Linked DNA regions of Homo sapiens: all the other regions are linked to region 1. Evidence: promoter capture Hi-C in 16 types of primary human blood cells and fetal thymus (Javierre and others, 2016). All regions are on one chromosome and are shown on one strand. The core of a region is centred on a gene start or on the middle of the fragment in contact, and the rest is flanking DNA. Distances in the headings are between cores, read along the strand shown.

What was found. Contacts are between HindIII fragments. The CHiCAGO score rates a contact against its expected background, and 5 or more counts as called.
Region 2: a fragment that was not itself captured here is called in contact with the fragment with the promoter of RMND1 in region 1 in 3 of 17 cell types (naive CD4 T cells, naive CD8 T cells and non-activated CD4 T cells); the score reaches 6.6 in naive CD4 T cells.
Region 3: a contact is called between a fragment that was not itself captured here and the fragment with the promoter of RMND1 in region 1, in 11 of 17 cell types (fetal thymus, naive CD8 T cells, total CD4 T cells and 8 more). The highest score is 12.0, in fetal thymus.
Region 4: a fragment that was not itself captured here is called in contact with the fragment with the promoter of RMND1 in region 1 in 1 of 17 cell types (M0 macrophages); the score reaches 5.0 in M0 macrophages.
Region 5: a contact is called between a fragment that was not itself captured here and the fragment with the promoter of RMND1 in region 1, in 1 of 17 cell types (megakaryocytes). The highest score is 5.3, in megakaryocytes.
Region 6: a fragment that was not itself captured here is called in contact with the fragment with the promoter of RMND1 in region 1 in 4 of 17 cell types (non-activated CD4 T cells, naive CD8 T cells, total CD4 T cells and 1 more); the score reaches 6.7 in non-activated CD4 T cells.
Region 7: a contact is called between a fragment that was not itself captured here and the fragment with the promoter of RMND1 in region 1, in 3 of 17 cell types (non-activated CD4 T cells, naive CD8 T cells and naive CD4 T cells). The highest score is 6.4, in non-activated CD4 T cells.

The regions. Positions count from the first base shown.
Region 1 is chr6:151,450,809-151,453,508 of GRCh38, forward strand. RMND1 (required for meiotic nuclear division 1 homolog) reads right to left here and starts at 1,318. Exons shown (of 12, transcript NM_017909.4): 1 at 1,208-1,318. DCPH1 (damage control phosphatase 1) reads left to right here and starts at 1,658. Exons shown (of 5, transcript NM_024573.3): 1 at 1,658-1,778. The coding sequence starts at 1,738. RefSeq lists enhancers at 1,046-1,095, 1,286-1,735 and a silencer at 1,896-2,015. The HindIII fragment of the contact is 8,083 bases long and covers 1-2,700 here.
Region 2 is chr6:152,334,856-152,337,675 of GRCh38, forward strand. It overlaps SYNE1 (spectrin repeat containing nuclear envelope protein 1), which reads right to left. Exons shown (of 146, transcript NM_182961.4): 76 at 1,986-2,162. Among named protein-coding and RNA genes, the nearest start is that of SYNE1-AS1, 44 kb to the right of the region's middle. The HindIII fragment of the contact is 183 bases long and covers 1,251-1,433 here.
Region 3 is chr6:152,295,115-152,297,814 of GRCh38, forward strand. The region is part of intron 93 of SYNE1 (spectrin repeat containing nuclear envelope protein 1); the gene reads right to left. Among named protein-coding and RNA genes, the nearest start is that of SYNE1-AS1, 84 kb to the right of the region's middle. The HindIII fragment of the contact is 5,328 bases long and covers 1-2,700 here.
Region 4 is chr6:152,317,063-152,319,762 of GRCh38, forward strand. SYNE1 (spectrin repeat containing nuclear envelope protein 1) reads right to left here. Exons shown (of 146, transcript NM_182961.4): 85 at 1,801-1,953; 86 at 1,019-1,201. Among named protein-coding and RNA genes, the nearest start is that of SYNE1-AS1, 62 kb to the right of the region's middle. The HindIII fragment of the contact is 2,676 bases long and covers 90-2,700 here.
Region 5 is chr6:152,353,660-152,356,359 of GRCh38, forward strand. It overlaps SYNE1 (spectrin repeat containing nuclear envelope protein 1), which reads right to left. Exons shown (of 146, transcript NM_182961.4): 67 at 1,000-1,317; 68 at 1-85. Among named protein-coding and RNA genes, the nearest start is that of SYNE1-AS1, 26 kb to the right of the region's middle. The HindIII fragment of the contact is 774 bases long and covers 906-1,679 here.
Region 6 is chr6:152,196,839-152,199,578 of GRCh38, forward strand. The region is part of intron 127 of SYNE1 (spectrin repeat containing nuclear envelope protein 1); the gene reads right to left. Among named protein-coding and RNA genes, the nearest start is that of SYNE1-AS1, 180 kb to the right of the region's middle. The HindIII fragment of the contact is 678 bases long and covers 1,045-1,722 here.
Region 7 is chr6:152,218,239-152,220,938 of GRCh38, forward strand. SYNE1 (spectrin repeat containing nuclear envelope protein 1) reads right to left here. Exons shown (of 146, transcript NM_182961.4): 119 at 2,604-2,700; 120 at 765-947; 121 at 19-165. Among named protein-coding and RNA genes, the nearest start is that of SYNE1-AS1, 160 kb to the right of the region's middle. The HindIII fragment of the contact is 2,405 bases long and covers 121-2,525 here.

The sequences.
Region 1 (2,700 bases), core at 68-2,567:
GTGTAGAAAGAAGTAGACATGGGAGACTTTTCATTTTGTTCCATACTAAGAAAAATTCTTCTGCCTTGGGATCCTGCTAATCGGTGACCTTACCCCCAACCCTGTGCTCTCTGAAACATGTGCTGTGTCCACTCAGAGTTGAATGGATTAAGGGCGGTGCAAGATGTGCTTTGTTAAACAGATGCTTGAAGGCAGCGTGCTGGTTAAGAGTCATCACCACTCCCTAATCTCAAGTACCCAGGGACACAAACACTGCGGAAGGCCGCAGGGTCCTCTGCCTAGGAAAACCAGAGACCTTTGTGCACTTGTTTATCTGCTGACCTTCCCTCCACTATTGTCCTATGACCCTGCCAAATCCCCCTCTGCGAGAAACACCCAAGAATGATCAATAAAAAAAAAAAAAAAAAAAAACACAACCAGCATCCATTCTCTTATCTTCCTCCACTTTGCATTTCTCCATTGTTTAACATCACTTGCACACCTTTAATTTTTAGTTTATTAATTCATACTGCAAACGAACTCAGTTCTTATCATGTGCCAGGTATTGTCCTAGTTGCTGACAATACAGCTGAAAATAAAATAGACAAAAATCCTATCTTTTGAATCTTTTGAACCTTGCATTGGGAGTGACAGACAAAACGAGGTAAATCAGTAAAATACGTGAGACACAAAGCTAAAGGAAAAAAATAAGAGGAAAGGGCAGATTTTTGTGTCTTCCTTCCAGAATGGAAGCTCCCTGAGGATACGGATTTGTGTTTTTTCCTATTATATCTCCTGACAATAGCGCCCAGCACATAGTAGGCATTCGATCGAATTTTTAAAATGAAATACAAGGCAGTTACTCAGTTCCCGGGCACATTTCAACTTTTAGAGAACAATTACACCAATTAAGAAAATCGATTACAGCTAGGCTACGATTCGAGAGCTAAGTGGCGCTCATCTTTGGGAGTATGCCGTTCAATTCCTCAAACTCAAAATTATTTTATCGATTTCTACAGTTACCGCGGTGCACTGGCTCAAAAAAAGGGTTCATTAATTGAGTGCTTTTTACTCCCAGCTAAGCTGACCAAAGATCACGGTAAGAGGCAAAGGGTCACAGCCGCACTGGCGTAACCCGTAACTGTACACGTTCCGGGCGGCCAGGAGCCAGGGCGCAGACCTCCAAGCCGGACCACTCGAGCTGCTAAAGAAAAGGCAATACACTAACCTCTCCGCCGGAAGAGAAGAAGGAAGCGCCAGGGACGCACGCTTCCTCGGCAGGACTGCAGGGAAAGAGCCGCACCCCCAGCCTCTCACTACTGCAGCCAACCCATCTCCTGGAAGGGCGCTCCCGCCCACCCCCGCTACTGCGCAGCCGCACTGAACTCTGGTCCCACTTAGCGGGAGAAACTCGGGCCACGTGACTGTCTGACCACGTGAGCCGCGTCGCCGCGACCTCTTCCGCTCCCTAGGCCCTGGGACCTCCCGGTCCCTTGCCTGCTTCCGGCTTTCGCTCGCTTCCATATCCGCTCCTCTAGTCGCCCTCCGCTGGCCCCGCCTTCGTCCCCGGAAGATTGGGTCTTCTGGCGAGCCACTGTTTGCCGTTTGATCGGGCACCAAATAAAGTTTCTTTATTCAAAAGCACTTTTTTTTTAAAGCCACACCACCCCCATTCTCAGCTCCTCCTTCGCGGCGGTACCGCCTCTGTTTCTGCGGCGATTGAACAGCCGAGCTTTGCGGCCGGGATCGCGGAAAGTGATGGCTGTCGTCCCGGCGTCTCTCTCAGGACAGGACGTGGGGTTAGTCTAGCTTTTCTCCTCCCCACTTTTGCGGAAAGCCGGGCCTCGCCGGGAGCCTGTGGGGACTAAGCGGAGGGCGCCCGCTCCCCGGTGGGCTGCGTTCGAGTCCCGCCGCCGGGCGCGGCTTTCCGGGGCGCCTTTGCGGGTTTCGCGGACTGGCTCGGAGGCGAAGGGAGGCGGCCCCGGGGAGGGAGCCTGCCCGCGGCGGCTGCTCGTAAGGATCAGGACAGGGGTCAGCTTCGCGGTCTGTTCCTGGCGGTCACTTTTTATTTATTCACTTTAATAGACGCGCTTTGGGGGCGTTAAAATTCTGCGTAAGAGTTGGGGATCTCAGCGCTATTAAGAAACGGGTTTCTCCCTGTTGTTGATCAAATCGTAATCTCACAGTAAGAACTGTCTAGTTTTTTGCTTTATAGTCGTCACGCTACTGATTCTTGGGTAAAGTTGTGGGTGACCGTGCAAATAACATCCATTTGCATAAATCGAATGGCCAAATTTATATTTGAAATTTGTCCTTACTTCAAAATATTGCAAAAGACGAGAACACTTTGAAGAAAATAAACCTGGGCAGAAAGTAGGTTGAGGCCAACAAAGTGGCGCCAATGGCCCCAAATTGAGGCAGTCACTGTTTCAGGTCATGCAAGTATAGAGAGTATCTCCTTCAATTTTGCGCCCTAGGGCTTCTGGCCTCACTCCAGTCCTGGCCAGAGACTTTGTTCCAGAGGTGCAGGAAATGTAGTAGTTAGGAAAACAGTAATACTTTCCAATTAAAGTAAAATCTCAAAAAAGGACTTACTATACCTACTGCCTGGGAAAATTCAAGTGACAGTTGATTTAATGTTCCTGCTCACCCTCTGAGGTATTAGTGATTTCTTTTATTAATGATTTTTAAAAATTAAATTCTGATCAACGTAGTTATTAT
Region 2 (2,820 bases), core at 92-2,591, 880 kb after region 1:
ATTCAAGATGGAGTCGCTCTGGTTTGAACGCCTCTGACGGAAACCTTCCAAATGTCAGAGACAAGGCAAAGTAGCTTGGGTCACCAGGTGGGCAGTGGTGTTATGTACAGAGTTGGGGAAGGCTGGAGTACATTCGCAAAGTGGAAAGGCAATGGTTTAGATTCATCTACTCCCTGCATACACAGCAAAAAGAAACCTCTAAGATACCATCTCTGCCAGCCCAATATGTGGCCAGAGGATCATTTCTTTGGATAGTGTTTCCTCCAAGGGGTTGGTTCATGGACTTCCATACTTCCCCACTGCTCACTCCCATTGCCATTTACTCCCACTACCCAAAAAACACCTCTTAAATCCCCTGACTGATATATGAAATTTTGTCCTTAAAGCTAGGTTCAATCACAATTAAAATGTTAACAAGAGTATCATCTTGAATGTTTTTATTATGTGTATATCTAAAACAAATACAGCAAAATATTGGCATTGTTTATTATCTCTGAATGGTAGTATCATAAGTGATTGTGATTTAAATTTGCTTATTAAGACATTTCTGTATTTTCTAAGCCTTTTATAATAAACAAAACTTTTCTTATAAAATACATTTTAAAAAATTAAATTTCTAGGATGGTTCACAAATTTTTTTAAAAAAGAGTTCATGCTTCTGAGAAAAAATAAATCTTATTATCCCGATCCCTATTCTCTTTTTTCTCTGTACTTGCAAACAGCACTCCAGTAGACAATATATTATTATTGACTCATAATCACAGAGAAAAAACATCTTTAAGTTTATTTAAAATCTGACCCAACTTCCAATTAAGTTAATACACTTATAATTTTCTTTTTTCCCTTTTTTTTGAGACAGAGTCTCACTCTGTGGCCCAGGCTGGAGTGCAGTGGCATGATCATGGCTCACTGCAACCTCCGCCTCCCAAGTTCAAATGATTCTCGTGCCTCAGCCTCCCAAGTAGCTGAGATTATAGGCATGTGCCACGCAAGGCTAATTTTTGTATTTTTAATAGAGATGTGGTCTCACCATGTTGGCCAGCCTGGTCTCAAACTCCTGGCCTCAAGTGATCTGCCCACCTCAGCTTCCCAAAGTGCTGGGATTACAGGCATGAGCCACCACACCCGGCCACAATTTCCTATATATTTTAAATTATTTAAATTATATATAAATATGTAATACAAACTGCATTTATATTATACTTTAAATTAATTACATATAGCTCAAATATATAACTAATGAATTGATAAGCTTACAGTCCTACAGTTTTAGCATAATATGGTGATGAAAATCTAAAAAAAGAATAATGTTCCATGTTTGCTTAGTCACAGAGTTTTCTGACTAAGCAGTCTACTCTGTAGACTAAATCACACCTGCTTTTCTCAGGAATAATGTAGAGTATGAATGTCTTCTGATGAAAGTGGCCATCTGAAGCTTCAGTAATATATTTGAATGTCTACTTTATAATCTGTTTTCCCTGGCACCAAATGATGTTTGTTCAGATTTGCTATTCCTTAAAGCAGCGGTCCCCAAACTTTTTGGCACCTGGGATGGGTTTTGTGGAAAACAATTTTTCCGTGAATGGGGCTGGAGGGGGATGGTTTCAGGATGAAGCTGTTCCACCTCAAATCATCAGATATTAGTTAGATTATCATAAGGAGCATGCAACCTAGATCCCTTGCATGCGCAGTTCACAGTAGGGTTTGCACTCCTATGAGAATCTGATGTGGCCTCTGATCTGACAGGAGGTGGAGTTCAGGCATTAATGCTTGCTCGCCTCCCACTGTGCGGCCAGGTTCCTAACAGGACATGGACTTGTGCTTGTCCATAACCTGGGGCTTGGGGACCTCTGCCTTAAAGAGTTGTATTAATGTCTAAGGATTGACAGACACTCAGGCATATTGAAGTGAATACACTGAACACATTTCAGGTTTTCTACTCTGTTGGCCTCTTTTATCTCCCTTGGGGGCAAATTAATTCCCACCTTAACTTGTGAAACCATGTTCTGTGCAATGTTCAGCTCCAGCTCAGAGTGCCTCCTCTTCATGTTCTGCAGTTGCTGATCAGCATCTTGCAGGTAAATCCAGAGCTCAGACTTCAGGTGCTTGATCTCTTCCCAGCCCTGAGTTAAGTTCTGGGCCTGGACAAGCTTTTGTTCAATCTTGAGAAAACACAGAGATAAAAGTTAGCAACCATACATGGAAACATTTATGGTTAATGAATCAGAGATGGAACTTTCCAGCTGGCCTGTGCACTCATTTGACACACACATACACACGCAAACTCACACACACAAATACATAAATTTAAAAAGTACTTCTTTATTTGCTTCAGGAAAAGCAGATTTTTTTTAAAAAAATGTAGGGTTCCTAAAGACTTTAAATGTCTACAAGTTATGCTATATGGTTTTAATCAGTGTTGTGAAACTCTAATAATTTTTTTTTTTTTTTGAGACAGAGTTTCGCTCTTGTTGCCCAGGCTGGAGTGCAATGGCACGATCTCGGCTCACAGCAATCTCTGCCTCCCGGGTTCAAGTGATTCTCCTGCCTCAGCCTCCTGAGTAGCTGGGATTACAGGCTTGCGCCGTCACACCCAACTAATTTTGTATTTTTAGTAGAGACAGGGTTTCTCTACGTTGGTCAGGCTGGTCTCGAACTCCCAACCTCAGATAATACGCCCGCCTTGGCCTCCCAAAGTGCTGGGATTACAGGAGTGAGCCACTGCGCCCAGCGAAACTCTAATAAGTTTTATCAATGTATTAGGTCTAAAGCTGCTCTGATGGTTTTTCCCATTGGGCATTTCAGTAGATTCATCTGTAT
Region 3 (2,700 bases), core at 17-2,516, 840 kb after region 1:
CTAGCGAAATTCTCCTCTTGTGTAGCTATATAATTGGAGCAAATAACTTATATCTTGCACACTGGTTCACTCATTGGTCCAATCTTGGGTGGGATTGAGGATTATATGAAATAATATTTGAGTGACTATGACAGCTTCTACCCATTTTGTTGTTGTTCCTGAGGTCTCCAGATGAGTCCCCAACATTTATTGATGATATTGGAACATGGAGACTGCTTCCTCTTTATTCCTAACCCTGTCACTGTCTTGAGTGGATTACTCTTCATGTCCTTAATAGCTTTAGATCCATTGATCCTCACTCACTCCCACCCCACTTCAGTCCTCCACACCCTTGTATGCTGTCATCGCTCAGCTGGACTTGTAGTTATGTCTGAAGTTACTTAAACCCCTTTCTTGCCAAGACTCTTGTTTCTCTTGCTCTTTTAACCTTTACTTCATCCACTTGGAAACCCGCAAACATGACTCAATCCAGAGTCATTTATGCATGTGTGTGTGTTACTGACACACACACACACACATACACACACAAACACGCACACACACACATACACATGCAATCCAAGCTGTCAAGGAGATACTGCAACTTCTCAAATTTTCAAAAGTCTATGTATATTCACACTCACCCTTATCTTATGCTTTCCAGTTTCACTGCTTAAACCTGACTCTCCCACAGACTCTGAGAATCCCATAAACTGCTTTTTCAAGGATCTTGGTCTATTAACATCCTCTCTGGCTTTGTTGACTTTCTCTCTTCCATCCAAAAACACCTGCACGCACTGTTTCTTTTATTTGTTTTCTTGAAGGATATCACATTTTCTAAAAAGTCCACAGTTCACAATGTGACGGATCGTCACACGTGAATGCACTTGCACACACAGGCTCCATCCTAATTTCTTTGTTTTCTCCCTTTCATTTCATAATCCAACTTCTGAAAGGGTGATTTTCATGGGACTTTCTCACCCTCGATCCACTTCTAAATTCCAGTTTGGACTTTGATCCTGATGACTGCAGAGCTTGCTCTCACCAGCTTCTTCTCTTTGACAAAAAATGATGAATTTTCATCCCTTCCCTTGCCAGACCTCTAGCATTCAATAGCACTGACAAACCCTTTCCGGAAACACTTTCTAAAAAATCTCTCTGTTCTCCTCCCAGCTTTCTAGTCATTCACTCTTTCTCTTTTATAGTTTGTTTTCCACTCACTCGCCAATATTGGTGAATTGATAAGCTCCAGACTCACATATCCAGATGTTCATGCATATCCTGTAGGCTCTTCAAAGTCAACATTTCCAAAAGGAACCAATTTAGGAAAAAACAATGAAGTATTATCCATCTTGCAATAAATGGAATGTCTTCTCACCTAAGCTATAAACTTGGGATTTATTCCTGATTTCTCCTCCCCCTTAACATCCACTGCTTATGGGAGGATGGAGTGCTAACGATGCATATCCTGGCCACAGCCTTGGTTCAAGTTCTCATTACAGTAACAGCTTCCTAACTCAAAGGTTGCAAACTGGCAGCCTGTGGGCTGCCTCTGACCTGCACATATTTAGTGTGGCTTATACAATGTTTTAAATTGTTTAAAATCTCTCTTCATGAAGATAGAGAGATTTCATTAAAATTCACATTCGTAGCTTGTTTTGCAAACCACAAGGTATGGTAACACTGGGCCCTGTGTCTTTGTTAAAGTAATGCTAACAGAGGAGACATTGCCTCATTTATGTGGAGCAGGAGCTGTCCAGGCCTCTGTAGTCCCTCCTGGCCTCTGTAGTCCCTCCTGGCCTGTTTCTCTCATTTTTATCACCAGGGTGGACCAAGCATGAGACTGTGTAACTTCTGTTTCTAACAGCTCCCCTGGCTCTGAATTTGCACACTTCTATTCTCCTGTCCACATTGATCCAGAAGTATCAGTTCTGTACACAGCTTCTCATTAAATTCCCTCAGTGGTTAAATATTAGCTTCTGGAGGAAGCTGAAATTCCTTCCTGTGGCATTCAGGGCCTCCATGATGTGGTTCCCATATCCCTCTCAGTCTCATTTCCCCCTCTCCTCCTCCTCCAATGTTTCTCCAATTACACTGAAACTATTTGCAGTTGCCTGGATGGGCCATTTTGCTTCCCGCCTCCACAGCTTCCAACAGGTGGTTTCTTCTGCCTGAAAATCTTCATCTCACACGACCCAACTGCACTCCAACTGCCTAACTGTGCTCCTCCCTTAAAACTAAAGGGGGCCATCCTTGACCTCTGCCTGACTCCAGCCAGTTTAGGTGCCTTCTCTAGGCCCTCCCACAACACTGTACTGCCCTCGGCCACACTACCTGCCACCTTCTCTTGTAAGCATTTGCCTGTCCTCACACACACTGTAAGCTCCCTAAGGGCTGTCTGGGTCACTGCTTTTCGTCTTCATCCTGAGCACATTGTGGAGTGTTTGGCAAATAACAGGCAGGCCTATATGTTCATAATAAATCATGCTTGTAAATGCACTTATATAAATTCTATTATTTTATATACATGTAAAGTAATACTATTACTGTCCATAAGGAAAAGCAGGAATGCCTTTAAATGGTGTAAACATTTTACATTAGATACTCTATTATAAATACAGAAGGCTCCCAAAAGAGCTAGAATAAAATAAATTTATTACAAATAATTTTTTTCTGGCAGTCTCACTCTGTGTGTGTGTGTGTGTGTGTGTGTGTGTGTGT
Region 4 (2,700 bases), core at 178-2,677, 870 kb after region 1:
TTGGACACAACAGTCTTAGGGGTTGATCATTATAATACCTATGATATTCAATGGTATCAAAAGATCGTTTCCCTGTTAAAATCTGTCAAAGCTTTCTCAGTGACCTTAGGATAAAGCTCAAGTTCTTAATATGATTGAATTATTCCTCTTTTTCTTTCTTTTTTCTTTTTTCTTTTTTTTTTTTTTCCAAGGTCTTACTGTCACCCCGGCTGGAATGCAGCAGCTGGATCATGGTTAATTACAGCCTCAATCTTACGGGCTCAGCCTCCCACCTCAGCCTCCCACGTAGCTGGGACCACAGGCACGTGCCAACCATGCCCTGTTAAATTTTTGAATCTTTTGTAGGTTTCACCATGTTGCCCAGGCTGGTCTCAAACTCCTAGGCTCAAGTGATCCTTCTGCCTCAGCCTCCCAAAGTACTAGGATTATAGGTATGAGCCACCATGCCAGGCCTTCCTCTATCCCTTCCTTCACCCTCCCCTGGGTAAGGAGGTGGCAAGTGGGGATTCTAGCAGGCAAAGTTTCAAACTATAATTAATGGGTTACCAACTCCTGGTTTTAACTTGTCCCTGATTATATTAATCGATTTCAAAAGTCTAGTCTATATGCAACAATTATTACAGACGTGCAATCTGAATCTATTAAGTCAACGTAAGCTGATATATATGTAGCTTACTTAAAGGTACTTGAATTCACCCCAAACTGATTTCATAAAACACGTTAATGGGTGAATATTCATTCTACAAAATACTTCTCCATTTTACAAAATATTCACTCCAAAGTCCATTTGTAGGACCACCTTTGTCAGTGACTTTATCATATGGCTGGATATAAAGTAAGTGCTGGTTTATACCTAAGTCTTAGGATCACAAGTGTAGCATGAAATAAGCTACACCTAAACTACTCTCTCATTGTCCATTTTATCTTTTTATTTATGTTAATTTATTTTCAAAAGAGAAAAGCAGAACATGGAAGTTTCTGCCTTACACGATTTGGATTTCTGGCCCGGAACACATACCTGATTGAGCTTGGAGAGCCGATTCTCAGCTTGTCTAATGGTCTGCTGGTGAAGTTCAGTCAGTTTTCCTATCTTCTTGGCCAGTGGCTTACCCAGTTGGCCATTCTGTTCCAAGAATTTCTGTACTGCTGCATCTAATTCCATTAACTTTGAATTACAGCCATCTAATTCCTCTCCCAGCACCTTGATGGTCACCAAAATGAAAGAACATTAGAGTACAGAAAATAAATTTCTCCAGGTTTCCCGAGATCAGACTGATTTTTGTCAAAGCCAAATATTATAATGAATAATTCTACTATAATTCTACTATGATCAGGTCATTTTTGTTTCTTCGGTTGGAAAGGCAGGGCAGGATATGTTGTAATGCTGGTGTTTATTTCCTATGAGGCTGAGTGAGAAGGCTAACATTTTCCTTCTGCCCCACCCAAAAAGGATTAGAGTCCCTGAACTCATCAACAGAGGAAGAACACAGATTTAGCTACCAAGGACACAATTCAGTTTGGAATTTATATACTTGTATTCCTAAATCATCACTTAGTCCTTTGACGCTCTTCTTTCGTACACACTCATGCATGTATATTTATTAATACTGTTCAATTATAATGATCAATTATGTAAGAGGATCTGTGTTGCTTCAGTTACAAAATTTCTTTACCACCTGCTGTTACTATTTGGTTTTAAAAAAGGTTCCTAAAAGGTTTTTATCCTATATCCCCAAGTAAAACTGACTCCAAAAACTATTTAATTCATTCAGTAGTACCCTTTAAAATTCTACTTCTTACCTTTTGGTCAGTTTTAGCTTGAACTACATTATCTGTCTTCGCTTTCAGCTTAGTTAGAATAGTTGTGAGGTCTTTAGCTAACTTCTGAATTTGCCGGCTGAGTTCCTGGCTCGTGGCCTTGCTCTGCTCAACTTCTTTTATTTTGTCTTGGATCTAAAAAAATCAGTAAGAACAGCAAAACAAGCCATGGTTAAAAGTGAATAATAGATACTAAAAATCTCAAATGATGTTGACAAGACACATTTTAACTGCTTTGGCATTGAAACACCTGGTCACACCAGCGATGTGCGATTAGTTACAAGCCCTCCTGGCTTTCCCTGACTTCACTATCTTTAAGTATTTACTGCACTCCTTGTGTTCCAGCAAAGATACAAGCAATGTGTGTAGAGAAATTCACTTATTAAATATTTACAGAATACTCATTATAGATGGTTGTGTAGACAGCTGAGTTTGAATCCTATCTTCTCCATTAACTAACGTAATGACCTTGAGCACACAAACTCCTCTAAGCCTTTTTCTTCATAAGATGGAAAATCCTCCCAAACAGTTGGAAGCACACTGATTTGTTTCCAAGCACCTTTTAATAAATGACTCTTAATGATCTGTTAACTCTTTTTGTAACTTTCCGACTACAGCTCTATAGTATGCCAACCAAGCATTAAGTACATCCAATGGAAAGGAAGGTGAAAAAAGACAGTTCGCATTTACAAATTTCCAGTGACTTTGGTTTGATTTGATAACAAACATTCACACTGTTGCTTAGAATAAAATGCCGAAGAAAAGACATTAAAGAGAAGAAACATTTCTTTATGTAGTTAAAGGTCTTTAAAAAAACCTCTTTAGTAGGGAGAAAACACACCATTAAAAGAGAGTTAATGGTGTGTTTTGGCCTTCATTATT
Region 5 (2,700 bases), core at 43-2,542, 900 kb after region 1:
CGTGGCTCTCGTCCAGTATCTCCTGAGCTCTAGCTCCCACTTCCTCAACTTCATCTCTGTATGCAGTCACTTCTTCGTGCCACTTCTGAAATGACAAAGTATCGAAGGGAAAGATTCAATCTTAGCCATTCGAATAAGCCAAATGTATATCTTCTTATAGGAAATGGTTTCAGTGTAGGTTTAGAAGATGTTTATTTTGAGATTTAATTTTGAAAATGCCATATGTTATCTTCATAAATATTATATTACAACAATGTGATACAAACTGTACACTTGAGTTGGATAGTTTTCTGTATCTATTACACTTCAATTCAAAAATTAAAAATGAAAACAGGCCAGGTGCGGTGGCTCACGCCTGTAGTCCCAGCTGCTTGGGAGGCTGAGGCAGGAGAATCGCTTGAACCCAGGCTACAGAGGTTACAGTGAGCTGAGACCGCACCACTGCACTCCAGCTTGGGCGACAGAGCAAGACTCTGTCTCCAAAAAAATTAAATAAAATAAATAAACATGAAAACAAAGTGGCATAATTTTTTAGACCTCCTATTGTACCTAGATCAATTTTAAAATGGGTGGATAATGAAAATAAATTCCTAAGGCTCAAGCATTATTTTAGATGTGTGCACTAAAATTGCATAAAACTTAGAATAAAACTAATTCTCAAGTACTATTTCAATGAACTATATTGGAGCAATTTCATATCAGAACCATAAACTTAAATTATTGTAATACAAGCATTCATGTATCTTCACAAAACAAGGTAATAGGGTATGGAAAGAAAATATAAAATGGTTACATTAAACTACCTTGTATCAAAGACTAATTTATGAAATAATTGCTGTAAGAGGAATGCTCCATTGTGATTTATTTTAACTTTCTAGGTAATCAAAAAGATTTTGCAAAGCCTAAGCTTTGGATAAAAGTTACTAAATATCTTAATGAAACAAACTATGCAAGGTAACTGTAGCTTTGACAAAGATCAGGAATCTACATGAGTTGTACCTTCATCTGATGTAATTGTATCTCCTTGGTTGCCCTGTTAGACTGACGTCTGGTCCTGGGACTAACTTTCTCCTCTGCTGTTTTGAGCCATTCATCTACTTGCTGAAACTTTTGCTCCATTAGCCTCAATTTGTTCACCACGTTATTGAACTGAGTTCGAGTCTCGGACAGCCTGTGCTGGTAAGCCTGCCAGTCTTGCCGGAGAGACTCTAAAGCCCGGTCCTCTGCCTGTGGGATACCTGATGGGATCACATCCTCTCTGGTGTGCAGCACTGAGTTCAACAGGGCCTGCCCCTCTGCACAGTGTACCTGTAGCTCCTGCAGAGAAAAAGGTATGGCTGTCACTCTCAATCATATTTCACACTTGCATGGGTTAGCATGTCTTGCCCAAGCCAACTGTGCCCACTTGAACTTCTCATTAGAAAAAAATGATTTTATTATTATGCCCTATACAAAAATATGTCCCTAACCATATTTTCTCCGAAGTCAGAAGGATTCCTAAAACTTTTTCAATTAAAATAATCAACATACACACACACACACCCCAATATTTTTCTCAATCAACAGTTTCCCAAATTTGACTTTTTAGCTAACAGGCAAAAACACTTGTGAATAAAGGGCTATTGTTTAAAAGAATGACCTAGGCTTATTATAGCTCATAATCTGCTTAAAGTGACTTAAGCTTCTTGCTTTGACATTGAATAGCTCAGTGCTACATTTGTGACTGAGAAAGAAACAATGAACCTTCTGCTTCCTAAGGAGGAATCTTTTGCCAAAGCTGTACTCTAGGCATTGTGGTGGCCAAGAAAATTTGAAACTGGAGAGTGCAGGGCACACAAACTTGGGAAATTGGTTCATCACACCTGCCCACCAGGTGCTCTGAGGTGCAAATAAATTTCCTCCACCAAAGCCTAAACCCCAAAGATTTACCCTACAAATTTAGTATAAATCAAGTTTTGAAGAGCATATGCTATTTTTTATAGGACAAAAAGAATCTTATATCCTTAAAGATATTGGTAAAACAACATGGCACACTTATATTTCTGGTGATAAACATAAATCTATACTGTCACTTGATCTGATCACCCAAAGTAAAATAAATCAAGTCAAATCCCATCAACAATGTTAAAAATATCAGTATATGTAGTTAAAACATAGTATTTCTCAATACTATATTTTAAAAACCACTTAAGATTGCTAAAATATTTTTCTTACAAAAATAACATTCTCACATGGTTTCAACTAATAGAAAATTTTTCTTCAAATATGATGTCACTTCAAGCACAGTATAATGTAAAGACATATGCACATGGAAGGAGAAGAACTATAGATATACATGGTAAAATATTAATCAAATTGGCAACAAATACATAAACTTTATTCTAAAATTCTTAGACTTTTTTTCAAGATAATTTTTTATAATTATTTTCCTAATTCAAGGTTGGCAAACTTTTTCTATGAAAGGCCTGATAGTAAATAATTTGGATCTTGTGGGCCATAGGTCTCTGTTGCAATGACTTAACTCTGCCATTGTAGTATGAAAAAAACCACAGACGATACATAAATAAATGGGTGTGGCTGCATTCCAATAATATTTTATTTAAAAATACAGACACTGTGGCCCTGGACAGTAGTTGACTAATCTATTAATCTTCTCAACATCTTTTCCATAGTTCATAAGTAACCACTTTATCTATTATC
Region 6 (2,740 bases), core at 134-2,633, 750 kb after region 1:
CTAGGACCCACCTAGGAGTGTAGTACTTGTGGCCTAGACAGCCTTTCAAATTTATGTAGGACCCCAGAGCATTTTAGCCCATGGTAGCAAGTGCTTGTCAAAACTCAGATTCTGTTGGCTGGGATGGGAGCTTCCCCTTTGGCTAGGTCTTGTGTAAATGCTCCCTCCGTGGGCATCAGCTGAGTTCTGCCTGGTATTGGCAGCACTGAGCTCCAATGCAATGCAGACCAACTGCTGGGCTCTCCTTCCTCGATATGCACAGATGCTCTCTCCGTGCCATGTGGCTGCTGCTGGGGCACCGAAAAGAAGAGGTGGTGTGGGCAATCCAAGGTTGTCTTTCCTACCCTCTTCATTGCCTCTTTCTGTACTATGAAGTTGAAATCAGGTAATGTGATTGCTCACCTGATTTTTTATTCTTATGAAGGCGCTTTCTTATGTAGATAGTTGTTACATTTGGTGTTCCTGCAGGGAGAACAGTCAGTGGAGAATTCTACTCAGCCATCTTGTTCTGCTTCCTCAGGTCAAATCGGGAATGTTCTTACTGCCATCTGCAATGACGAATCCTTTCCACAGGGTTTTCCATTTACTTTGCCCAGATCCATCATAGGAATCACTATCTATGGCAGCTATAGCCTCACAAAGTGTATTTCTTAAATAATAAGACTTGGAAGTTGAAATTATTCCTTGATCCATGGGCTACAGGATAGATATTGTGCTAGAAGGCATGAAGACAACATTAGTCTTGTACATCTCCATCTCCATCAGATATCTAGGGTGACTACGTGCATTATCAAGAAGTGGTAATACTTTGAAAGAAAGCCTTTTTTTTCTGAGCAGTGGGTCTCAAAAGTGGGCTTAAAATATCAGTAAAACTGTACTGTAAACAGATATGGTGCCATCTGGGTTTTGTTGTTCTATTTATAGAGCACAGGTAGAGTTAGCATAATTCTTAAAGGCCTTAGGATTTCCAGAATGTTAAATGAACACTGACTTTAAGTCACCAGCTCCATTTGCCCCTAACAAGAGAGTTAGCCTTTTCTCTGAAGCTTTCGAGCCAGGCATTGACTTCTTTTAAGCTATTAAATTTCTCAATGGCATCTTCTTCCAACATAGGGCTGTTTGATCTACCTCTAGCCTGGGCAACAAGAGCAAAACTCTGTCAGGAAGGGGAGAGGAGGGGAGGGGAGGGGAGAAGGAAGGAAGGTTAAAAGGAAAGACGGAAAGAAAGAGGGAAGGAAGGAAAGAGGAAGGAAGGGAGGGAGGGAGGGTAACCACTTCCATCAATGATCTTAGCTAGATCTTCTGCATAACTTACTGCAGCTTCTACTTCAACACTTGCTGCTTCACCTTGCACTTTTATGTTATGGAGATGGTTTGTTTCCTTAAAACTCATGAACCAACCTCTGCCTGCTTCCATCTTTTCTTCTGCAGTTACTTCTCCTCCCTCAGCCTTCACAGAATTAAAGGGAGTTACGACCTTGCTCCAGATTAGGCTTTGGCTTAAAGGAATGTTGTGGCTGGTTGGATCTTTTATTCAGACCACTCAAAGTTTCTCTGTATCAGCAATAAGGATGTTTTGCTTTCTTCTCATCCATGCATTCACTGGAGTATTACTTTTAATTTCCTTTCAGAACTTTTCCTTTGCATTCACAACCTGGCTGTTTGTGGCACAAGAGGCCTAGCTTTTGGCCTGTTCCAGCTTTTGACATGTCTTCCTCACTAAGCTTAATCATTTCTAGCTTTTGATTTAAAGTGAGAGACATGAGATTTTTTTCAATTGAACACTCAGAGGCCACTGTATGAATTGGCCTAATTTCAATATTGTTGTGTCTCAGCAAATAAGGAGGCCAGAGGAGAAGGAGAGAGATTGGGAACATTGTTGGTGGAGCAATCAGAACACATGCTACATTTATGAATTAAGATTGCTGACTTCTATGGGCACAGTGTGTGGTGCCACTAATTACAATAGCACCATCAAAGGTCACACTGACTGTAGATCACTGTAACAAATATAACAGTAAAGAAAAAGTTTGGAATATTGTGAGAATTACCAAAATTATGCAGACATATAAAGTGAGCACATGCTGTTGGAAAAATGGTGCTGGTAGACTTGTTCTATGCAGCAATGCCACAATCTTCAATTTGTAAAAAAAAAAAAAAAAACCAAAAAACAAAAAACAAAACATAGGATCTGTGAAACACACTAAAACAAGTGCAATAAAATGAGGTTTGCCCATATTTCATTTGCTTCCACATAATTTGATAAATTGCTAAGTCCTTCTGATAAAGTATGATTGCCTGCAGAATCTTTCTGCCATCTACTCATCATTTTATTGATTTAAAATTTTTTTTTCCTAAATTGAAGTTTAATCACTGTATTGATCTTCTTTACTTTAGACTGACTTCATAAACCTCTAACTTATCCTTTCTTTTTGTCCTGAATTGCTGATCACACTGATGAAATATTTTTAAAAACAGACACCTAAATTTAACTTTCATTTTCAAGCACTATAGAGTTGCTACATTCTGTGATCTATACTTATAATGTAATAGCTGAGAAGATCTGTTGCTGTTACTACTCAATTTAAAACAATGCACTGAATACATTTTCTGCAGGATCAGACATTTCTTTAAGTTACTAAAAAAGATTATGTACCCTGTCTTTTAGGGGAATGATTTAAGAAAAAAAAATTCATATAGCAATATTTGAATGAGTTGACATTAGTTTTTACAATATTTT
Region 7 (2,700 bases), core at 73-2,572, 770 kb after region 1:
AGATTTGAACACACTTACCTTAAGTTCTTCCATCCTTTCCTGGATTGTGGAGAGGTCAGATGAGTGGCTAGGGTCCTGCCCTTGTAGTATTTCTTCAGCTTCCACTATCCAGGCCTCCAAAGCTTCTAAACTCTTGGCAAAGGTTTCATAATCAAGAACTCCAGCCTTTTTTTCCACAAAAGAAATTGGTATTTCAGTTAAAAAAAAAAAAATTGGTATTTTAATAAAGTCTGGTAAAAGGGCAAGTGGATATTAAAATTATTTTTCATATTCTTGTATCAAATTGCCATTCTCTAGACGTTCCTATAAAAAAAGCTATAACAATTTAAATCTTCTTTATGTAATTTTTCTAAAAACTATAATTATTTCTATGCACCATAAGTCAATAACAATTCAAATTATTCTTTAAATACATGATCAAACAACACGTCTGAAAAATCTTCTGATTCTTGTAAAAGTCTGAGTTAAATAAACACGAATATTTATATTAAAGCCGCTTAGTGTTTATTAATTGAACAGGCCATGGTGGCAGGCATTGGTTCAGGGGCTTGCATCTTAAACCGATTTTAAAATTCCTTGGCAGAGAACAGCGCAAAACGTCCACCTTCATCGTCCCCACCAGAACTTCCAAGTTTGTTTACTTGCTATTTTCTTGAGTCTTGAAGGAGGCATTGTTGCCATGACAAGGAATTCTTTTTCTGTGTTTGTGCCCAGATATTAGAGAACAGCCAATATACAGAAGATACTAAATAGGAGCTCTGTACCTGTAATGAAGTCTGCTGTTTGCAGAGAGCTTGCTCCAGGGCACACAAGTGTTGACTCAAAGAGAGTTGATCCGATTGAATAGCTGATGCTGCGGAAGCATCCACTTGTTGCTTCAGTTGCTCTCCCAGCTCATGGAGAAAAAAGAGGGAATCTTTAACTGTGCCCAGTCCTTTGAGGAGGTCCTAGAAGAGGTGAAAATATGCCCACTCTGAAGCATGTTGATACTCCTTATCATAAACAGCAATCGGCAAAGGGCTACACATGTAGAAACACACCATTCCTACGGATCATATTATTAGGCTAAATAAACTTCACCTGTGGAAAAATGAACACGCACTGAACCCCATTTTTTAAAATGCTATGTTAATATTTTAAACATACATTATACACATATAACCTATGGCTATATATAATTACTCTTTTGTTAGTAAAAGCTATGTAGGTTCATTACAGGACCTTGGGGAAATGCAGAAAAACATACATAAACAAGAAAAAAAAAAAAAACAAACATGACCCAAGAGTAGAGCCAATAACTGGAAATATTTTGGCAGTTTTTTTCCTGCCTCTTTATGTAATTTGTATCAAATTGAAAACAAAATGTTATATTTTTCCTTTTTCTATTATTATCATACACACCAGGAATTTGTCCGTGGTGTCTTCTATATGTGTGGTCACATTATTGCAAGTACAGCAACCTCCTATCTCAGTAGGGTACAGAACACAGTGATGATTTTGGTGAGCAGGGGGTGAGAGTAGCCTGTATTCCCATTCTTTTCCATGGGATCTCTTTGCCTCCACTTTCTGTGGGACCCTCCTACAGGTTAAAAAATATAAGCCAATGGAAACTCCCTGTTTCTGCTTTCTATCCTATCATTGAGAGATAATAAGTGACTGCTTCTTCTACCTGTTGCTGGTATCCCACTCAGTCATGTTATGCCTAGGCAGTGACTTCTGTGAGAGAAAGAAGAACAAAGGGCTCTTTACGCTTGACACAGATAACAGACAAGGTGTATTTCAATTCAGGAGTATTGAAAATGACAGTTCTTGTACACACAAATTATGTGGATGAAAAAAGCACTGTATTATCTTTATTTTAAAATACCCATCTTTAGCTTTAAAGTGATTATTCAGGTTGAAGATATTAGAATAGGTTAAACTTTTATTTACATAGTTTTTATAGCTTGCCTAATTCTAATAAACTGATTTGGAAAAGTTTATAAAAAGATCCTCGTAACAAGCTCTTAAAAATAAAGACAAATAAGGACAAATAGTAAGAGCCATGTAATGCTTGAAACAAGAGAAGAGCTGTTCCTTAAACCCTTAAGTAGGTTATTGGCAGCTACAGTGAAAAAGAGAATTATTAAAAAGCCATTAAAAGAAGTATACCAGTAAATTAGGAGAGAAAGACTTCTTTCTACCATTAATATCTTAGATGAAACTATTGTGTAGATGCTTACATAGGAGTTAATGAATGTAAATGGACAACATCTGGAACAGAAGATTTTTTAAAGATAGAACACTATTCCCCATATGGTCATGTCTTATATTGACCACCCTAGAAAACACAAAGAGCCTCAATCTTTCACATTGACTAAATTCCACTAGGAAAAATGGGAAAACAACTCATTTTAAAAAATAAAACAATGGGAGGAGACCTCTTAGTCTGATGCATGTGCACCTGTGTTCTGAAAATCAGGCAGGCTCTTTGATCCTAAGACAGTTATTTTTGGGTAACTGTCTCACATAGAAAGACATACCAAAGCTTACACAGACCAAAAGCTAAACTTGGGCAGTCTAAGAAGGGCATGTGGGGAAAACAAGGTAGCTCCTGAACATACGTTGCAATCTTGAATCCATGTGGCAACCTCATCATCGGCAATGTCCTTGTTTGTGGCTGCCTTCAACAGCTCATTGGTTCGATCCTCCTGCTGCTGA